Linked DNA regions of Homo sapiens: region 2 is linked to region 1. Evidence: promoter capture Hi-C in human tissues and cell types (Jung and others, 2019). All regions are on one chromosome and are shown on one strand. Each heading gives the region's core, a stretch centred on a gene start or on the middle of the fragment in contact. The rest is flanking DNA. Distances are from core to core; before and after follow the strand shown. Region 1 holds the start of ZNF385B (zinc finger protein 385B). Region 2 overlaps TTN (titin).

What was found. The method cuts DNA at HindIII sites, captures the fragments that hold promoters and counts their contacts. A contact is called where the count stands out against the background at its distance.
Region 2: a fragment that was not itself captured here is called in contact with the fragment with the promoter of ZNF385B in region 1 in 1 of the 25 tissues and cell types used here (dorsolateral prefrontal cortex).

Annotation. Positions count from the first base shown.
Region 1 is chr2:179,859,561-179,863,687 of GRCh38, forward strand. It overlaps ZNF385B (zinc finger protein 385B), which reads right to left and starts at 2,052. Exons shown (of 10, transcript NM_152520.6): 1 at 1,541-2,052. MIR1258 (microRNA 1258) reads right to left here and starts at 1,348; the gene lies at 1,276-1,348. The HindIII fragment of the contact is 6,066 bases long and covers 572-4,127 here.
Region 2 is chr2:178,785,644-178,790,025 of GRCh38, forward strand. It overlaps TTN (titin), which reads right to left. Exons shown (of 363, transcript NM_001267550.2): 12 at 4,335-4,382; 13 at 3,717-3,854; 14 at 205-498; 15 at 1-99. Among named protein-coding and RNA genes, the nearest start is that of TTN, 20 kb to the right of the region's middle. The HindIII fragment of the contact is 6,263 bases long and covers 1-4,382 here.

The DNA of each region.
Region 1 (4,127 bases), core at 802-3,301:
ATGCATCCAAGAGAGGTCAAGGAGATCTACAAGAATAGCTATCTGATTTGTGGTTTTTATCCCAAGCTTCCTCAAATCACTTTTGGAAATAGGTAAGAGTGTAAATTATAAATCCACAAATATTTAATTTATGGGAATATAGAATCTGAAAAACAACCAACACTTTGATCAAATAAGCATCTTTTTCATCTTAAAAACCTCAAGTAACAGAACTTGCAATGCTGTATTTTGCATTCTAAAGGCATTTATCTGTTACAGGGAAGGGGCAGCACATACTCAACGCACACATGGCATCAAAATAAGATTAAAGGACTCTGAAAACCAGTGAAATTTGGCCTTGGAACATTTAAGGGAGTTCTTTCAAGCCAAAGCCTTTAACTTACCTAAGATGTAGCTTATTGACTTTATGAAAAGCCCTCTTTTTAATTAGATAAATGCATTTCCTACCGTTTCATGAATTGTGTGGACGCTGCCAGTTTCCACGCTTTAGGCTAGGCCCTATAACAGAAATGTTTTGTTCCTTCTATAGGAACATCTTTTGCTACTACATCTTGACAAAGTTTGCATTCCCCTTGGTGTGATATTCCTCAGCAAAGCAAAACCAAAAGGAAATGCAAACCTCATCTCTGTATGAAAATGAAAGAAGACGTTTCCCAACCCAAGAACTTTTGAGAGCATTCCAAAACTGCGTTATTTTGTATTCATGGGCGTGGGGAGAGGGGGGATACTTCTTGGCAATTTATTTCCCCTGAAGAACAGCACTCCCTATCCAGGTTCACCATAAAAACTGTGTGTCCTCCAGAGTCTAGGGAAGCATCGTCCTGCCAGCTCTCCCTTCTCCCCACAGGCCCCCGCACATAACAGTGGCGAAACAGATGGTCCTCCCCCTCCCCTTCTCCTCGTCCCTTCCGCAGTCCCACAGTGTCCTCCCACCCTTCCCTGACACCTTCACCAGCGCTTAGTGGCCGAGGCCGCCCGTCAGGGCTCCCAACAAGTGCAAACTTCGGGGACCTTCTCTCTGCTCCTCTGCCCCCATCTCATCTGGGTTCTGCTGCAGAACTCTCCCACGACCCCAAGCTTCGACCGCTACCCTCCTCACACACCTCGGTCCCCTAACTACCCATTTCCCGGTCATTGAGAGAAAGACAAACCCCAAACTTCCAGCCCAGGTGACGAGGCGCTGCGGCTAAACATAGCGGGGCACTCTCCTCGTCCTTTCCCCTCTCCATCCGTCCTTGGGAATTGGAGCCTACCCTGGGGAACAGAGGAGTATGCTCCTGTGGCTTCCACGACCTAATCCTAACTCCAGGGACTCGCAGGAGTTAGGATTAGGTCGTGGAAGCCACAGGCGCCTGGGCGCCCTCCTCTACAAGTGGGACCTTGAGACAAAGTGCAAACTCTACCGGGAGGGGGGCTCCTGGCCATTCCCTCGGGCGGCGCGCCCAGGTGCAGGCTCGCTCTGCGGAGGAGGGCGGGGGCCGGGCAAGCAGAGGGCGCCCAGTCCGGGGGCGCCGGTCTGGGCTGGGCGCCCAGAGCTTACCTCGGCGCGCGGGCCGCGGGCGCGTGGGGCAGTGGCTCCTCCAGCCGGGAAGCTGTTGCTCACGCTCCGGTGGTTGCTGCGGTCCCGCCAGGGCTGCACCGGGGCTTCGCGCAGACGTTCTCCCGCGATCTGCTGCAGCCCAGGCGGTGGCGGTGGCGGTAGCAGCGGCGGCGGTGGAGGTGGCGCGGGCGACAGCTCGGCCCGGCGCGGCCCCTGAACTGTCCAACTCTTGCCCGCGCCGGGCTTAAGCGCCCGGCCGCTGCCCCCGCGCTGAGCGCCTGCGCACCGGGCCTCGCCCAGGTGAGGGGCGTGTGCCCGGAGCCCGCTGGGCGCGCCCGGCCCGGCCCGGCCCCGCCGCACGCCCGCCCCCCTGGCCTGGCCGAGGACCCCGGGGTTTGGACGTGCCAACGCCACTCTCGCGCGCCGAAGCTGTGACGGTTTACTAAGCAGAGACTTGCGAGGCACACAGAGAGGGAATGAGGCGGAACCGTTCGGGGGCTCGTTGACACTGCAGAGCCTCCCGCAGCATCGCTGCCTTAAATCCCGCCTTTCCAGGCGTGCGCGCACAGCGAGCCAGAGGAGGCTCCGTCCCGACCTGGGGTCCCCCGCGGTCCTCAGCCCGGGGGCTCGGGTCCCCGAAGAGATCCTTGGCAATGGCAGAGGTCCCAAAGCCTAGATGCCAAGCCCCGCGATGGGGCGGATGCTTCCAATATTAGTCAACCCAGAGTGAAACTCTCTTCTTGGAGATCGTCAGACCAACTATTTGTTTTTCCTCTTTGACCACCCCTGGGCTAGCAGAGCACAGCTAGCAGCTTCGGCATATTTGGCGGAGCCGGGAAGGCCCGGAGCGCAAGAAGGCATCGCAGCCTCGCAGCAGATCTGAAAGGGTTGTGGGCGGGGGGCTCATTTTCGCCGGATTTCTTTTCCGTGTTTAAGTTTTCAAAACTAAAACCTGTCATCGGTTACCCTGATGTAGAGGGCATCTTCTGAAAATTAGTGCAAACATGGCCAAGGTGCTTGGTTCTGAAAGGGAAAGCACTTAGAACACTTAAGAAAGGGAAAATAATTTTAAAAGAGCAGTTTTCTGAGATTACTTCTTTGGGGAGAAGTTCAATAGTCATAAATGACAAGAGAGTTGTGTTATATAGCAGGGATTTTTTTTTAACCAGATGATCTTAAAATATTTTTCTTTGGTTCTTGTCTCAGATGATTGACACTACGTAAATAATCCTGCAGCTGTTAATGTCTTGGCATAATCGTCTAGAATAAATATCTTAACGTCCAGCCAAAGCCAATGTTGTTCTCCCAGGGTGGGCTTCAGATGTGACAAACAATCACACCATCCTAGAGCTTTCTAAGGGAGCAGGCTGTGTTTTTAAGCACCTTGGAATGTAGAGTTATTGCAAGCACCAGCACATTTGAGGTACCAGCGTGAGAAAGGGCATAAATCTGACTTACAGTTTTTGTATTTTTAGAATCCAAATATCTTCACATCCAGGTCGGCAGTCTCAATACTAAGAACAAACGTTTATTGGTGTGCTTATTCTTAAAACTGTACCTTATTTGAAGTTGCTACAGAAGGACAGCACCAAAATTCAATCATTTTAACCCAAAAGAACATGAGCTATGATAATTGCTTAAATTATCTTTCACAAAATTATGATCTTAAGGTCTCTTGTCATCAATAAAGGTTATGTTGAAAACACGTCTTTCACAAGTCCCTGAAGGTCAGTAAGATGGAGCTCTGGCAGACTGGGACAAGCAGGAAATTCCAGAGGCAAAAACCTTCCATGAGAAAAACACCCAGCTTCCAGTGCCATGCACTTCAGAGTTGGGACAGCGTGGTTGTCGAGGTTGCCTCTGAGCTCAGGTAAGTATTGATATCTCCAGGAATCTAAGATGCAGAGAAAGGGGTGAGGGCCCCTTAAAGTCTCCAGTCAACACCTTGGATTGCACTTGGAGGCAAATGAGTAACCTCTGCAGAGTGGAACACCTGTGAGAAGTGTTCTCCGTGGCTTGCACAGTTTAGCAGCATGTGCATTTTTTATGTCCTGCAAACTGCAACTATATCCTTCCCTCCTCCCTGTCTATTTTTAATCACCTATAGCTAAGACTCACGGCAGAGAATAATTTGAGGGTTGCATTTCCTAACAGCTGAAAGAAGCATAAAATACATGCAGACAACTCCCAATTATTCACCTGTGACATAACTGACTAAGAATCCTGCCCTTCACGTCCTTAGCCAAGGCAGGATTAAGGCCTCTGGAGCCCCAAGCACAAAACAATTGCAGTGCCTCCTTTGTAAACGCACTTCAATATGGAAACAACATTAAATTTAAAAACACAATATTTAAATATATAGAGAAAAAACAGCTTCTGTCTCGATTTTCTGATGCAAATGTGTTTCTATTGTATAATTTGTCATTGAACATGCCTTTACAGTGTTATCTGACATAGGGGATTCTCCTGTCCTCAAAGCCTCCAAGCACCATTTTCCTGGAAACATTCTGGCTCACTCCTGGCAGTAATGGAGTAAACCGACTCAGAGAACTATAGCCCTAGGTTCGGGGCGTTAGGAAAGTGGTCA
Region 2 (4,382 bases), core at 202-2,701, 1.1 Mb before region 1:
AACAGAAATTTTTGAAACAGTAAAGTGAGGGCTAGCTGTGCGGGGGCGTTTATCCACATGGACTAATCTTTCCGTTGTTAGATCTGTAGTTTTCTTGATCTGCATTGAAATGAAACTCAGTGATACCATTGATCACCAGATGACCACAGCAGTGAGGCTTGCTTTACCATGAACAAGGTGAAAAATCAGCAGGTATAGACTCACCTGTGATGATATGTGCATTCCCTTTTGATCAGTAGTTTTGATATGAGTCTCAGAAGGAGCCTGGATTACTCTAGGCTTGACTGCTTTAGGGACAACGTGGGGTTCTGAGGCTGGACGTTGGGGAGGCTCAGCTACCTTTGCGGCGGAAATGCGTTCCTTATATCCGTACTCCAAAGTGGTCTGCTGAGCATAGGATTCTTCAAGATGCCCAGGCTCTCTGGGCTCTCTGACTCGGGCCTGGTCTACTGCAGCAACAACTGTTGCTACAGCTTCAGCCTTTTTTCCAACGTCCACCTGGAGACAAGGTTTCCAGAATTAATACATAGGAATATCGAGATCAGGCTGGAATATCTCCTGGGCATCAGGACAGGCAGATGGCGTCCACATTATACAGCAGTGTTAACGTGTCTAGAAATGTATCTCAGAAACACTTTTAGGGACTATTTCATTGATTATTATATTGTACAGACATCTATTTAGATATACTCTCTGTACACCTACTTAATTATACTAGACATTAAATCACATATACACAACATAGGACAATCACAATATGAACATAAAATCACAAGAAGATTTTGAAATTTTCTAGAATTTTTCCAGGCAGACAATCAATCAGCAATTGGAAAATCAGAATTTTGGAGCTGGTTCTTTTCACTGATTATTTTTATTATCTTGTTGACCATTTAGTCTGGTATTAATGCAGTGACAGTGATGATATAAGTGCACTCAAATACCGTCATCATCCTGTCCAGAAAAATCAGTGACTACAGAGTTATATGGTTGCATGCAAATCGGACATAACATGAAAGCTCACAAACACAGAGTGAGCATATGAATTTACTTATGATTCCCTAAGGGTAAGATTGTTTAATCTATCAGAAAATACCTTTCTTAAAACACACAGATGACAAAGAGAACCCCGTGCAAATAAAAATATTGTGATTAAAATGAAAGTGTTATCATGTTTGGATTCAAGAGAACAACCTTTCACATTGAAGTTTAATTTACTTTCATTATTATGGAGAGTTAAAGCAAAGAATGAAACAAATATTATTTTCTCGTTTCTGAGTCTGATGAACATTAATGGAAATACAATTTGCAGAGGAGGTTCTCTTTTAAAGAAGGCAAACTAGCTGATGTGGCTTAGATATTATGATTCTATGTGATACTTGGAAACAGCATACCTCAAAAATCACATAGCCATGTTCATTTTAAAAGTACATTTTAAAAGTGCATTTTAAAAGTAAGATTGGAAAATTTTATTAATATTCAGTTTTCTATACCTGTGAATAGAATCTAGAATGCATCAGAAACATTCTTCAACTATGCTACCTGCATATCTTTAAAAATTATTCTCTGAACCATTCAAGATATAAATGAGATTTTTCTGAGATGGAATTGGGTCTTTAGTGATCATGGGCTTTATCCAGGGCTTCCTTTTAGGAAGACACAAACAATTTCATCTGCCTCGAAGGACTGCAAATACCATCTTCACTTTAGATTGCATCATCTCAGAAAAAAACATAAAATACACATGAGGCTTAGGTGAGTTAAGTTTGTCCATTTATTTTTTTCTTTTTTAAAAACTATATTGGCAATGAGCTGACTTTAATTGTATAGACATTTTAAAATGTTAACATCTTCGACAGATAACACTAAATAAATAAATATTATTTTGATTGTAGTGTGATCACATTTCCACTATATCTCATTTGAACCTTTTAGCCAGTCTGCTATGAAGTAGTCAGCTTAAGTCTTAATTTTATTTTAACAATGATAAAAGAAACTGTCAAAGAAACTGTCATATGACTAAATATCACACAACTGAAATATTTAAATTTTGTTCTTGATTTTAAACATATGGAAAAATCTTAATCATGGTAAAATATTTTAAATTGAGGAAGCATCTGTCTGTTTTTTCCTTGAATTATTGTATATCAGATTTATATACACACACTTATTGGTGGACTACAAATGAGTATGCTGGTAACCGCTTTTATTTCTTAGTGGACTTTGATATCTCTCACATGTTTGTAACCTAGAGAAGCAGGAAGACAAATTGGACTAGAATACTCCAATTCATACGAGTTAAATGCTGAGAATAAATTTAGGAGACATAAAGAAGAGTATTATTTGGTCTGACTTTTCACTACTAGAAATGCTCACTGTTCAACTGGAGGATGGACTGAATCTAACCATCTCTATTGTTTTATTGATCAGTTAAACAATTAGATGGAACACTAGAAGCACAATTCACGACGGATGAAAAGTTATGAGAGTTGATGATGAAATGGGATGAAACAATACTTTTCACCTCCATAGCATCAGTTTTCATCTCTTCTCGAAAAAGATGTATTTGTTTTTGTTTAATAGTGAATCCTTCTCTAGTCATTGGCGGTGTGGCTGGTTCAGCAGATTTTGCAGTGGTAACTACTACTTCAGGTATAAACATTTTCTCAGCTTCCATCCTTAGCTAATTTTTAACAAAAACAAGATAGTCAATTCATGACAAAATTTGAATGGAAACAAAAGTAAAAAGTTAATCACTCATGAAGTATGTTGCATAGTGGAATTTCTGTCATTTATGAGACTTCTGAAAGGCTGATATGCCATTAAATGTTAGATTTGAGTAAAGGTTTAAAAAGTTTATCTTAAATCATATCTTAGAAAAAAAAGATGTAGAGTCAGAAAATGACACTGAGGGAAATACAAATAGGATTCAGGCCATCCTGCTAATGAAATGGAAAAACTTTAGTTGCTAATTTTCAAGTGGTATATTAGCAATAAAGAATACAATTAGGTAAATGGCTCATTTGGAGTAAATGACAGAGTCATGGGAAACAGTTTAATTCATGGATATTTCATAGCTACAAATAGATACGGTAATCTTTTCATGGCTTATGTGTAATTGTTCTGTTTGGATACTTCCTTCTCTAGATTTTAATATGCATCTTGTTTAGCTTTAGTGGGAGCTGCTACAGCATGCATTATAATTTTTTCAGCTTATCTTCTCCTCTGATATTTACAGGAGGGAAAAAAGATAAAGTTTCATACAAAGAAAATTATGGGTAATTTACTGAAATAAGTCATACTCCATAACATAATATACTGAATTTATGACCCTTCAAAACACACATCTTCTTGACAGTGAGTAAGAGTCATCATTTACTTATACATCTTCCGTGTTTTTAAAAAATGTTCATGGGCCTCTTAAAATTAGCCTGCATGCAATTTTAATCAACTTCTGGAAGATTCCCAGATGTTAATAAAATGTTGACAATAATGGTGAAGAGATAAGTGGAGAAAGGGATATGTAGTAATATTAACAATAATAAATTTTTTTAGTTTCCAATTATTTAATTGTCTAAAAAATAAATTTGGTTAATAGTGACTCATACATAAGAAATTCAGAGACTTGATATTAATGTATTACAATAAGGAATTTCACATGATATGTGGTATTAATGTATTATAATAGGGGATTTCACACTTGGAACAACAATAGTCACCTTTCCATGGGTAACTTGGATTTGTTCTTGTCTAGTAGCCATAGTTTCTCTAGTTCTCAGTATTGTTTCTTGTTCTTTGGCTTTAGCAGTAGCAACTGCTATTGTAGACAAGGCAGTTTTCTCGGCTTCCTTTCTCATCTGATTATTACAGTAAAATCAAGATTTAAGTTGAACAGGGCTTCAAACACACATAGTATGACCCTTCCCCCTTCCTCATGGGGATGCAAGATGGTTATTCAGGGTTAAATACACAAGAGAAATAAACTTTCACCGGCAATGTCTACATATACTGACTGAGAATCACAAAACTTAGAAATGTTAGCTATTAAAAAACCTCTAGATGAGTCCCTGTGTCACTTTTTAAAAATTAAGCTAAAAAATGCTAATCTTCATGCAAAGAATAATGGTGAATAAAATGAATTATAAATGTTACAGATGGATGAAAATCAAATGTGCAGATAAAATTAATGATAATCAGTCTCATATTTACCATTTTGTTTTTAGTTAGGGATTTTAAAAGGCAAATACAGATTAATAATTCATACCATATTGTAGTTAATAGTTTACTAGAAATTAGTTTAAAGATGAACTTTTCACAGCTCAAATATCTGTATTCACCTTCTCCTGAGTTATTTGCACTTGTTCTCTTTTGGTAGTAATGCCTTC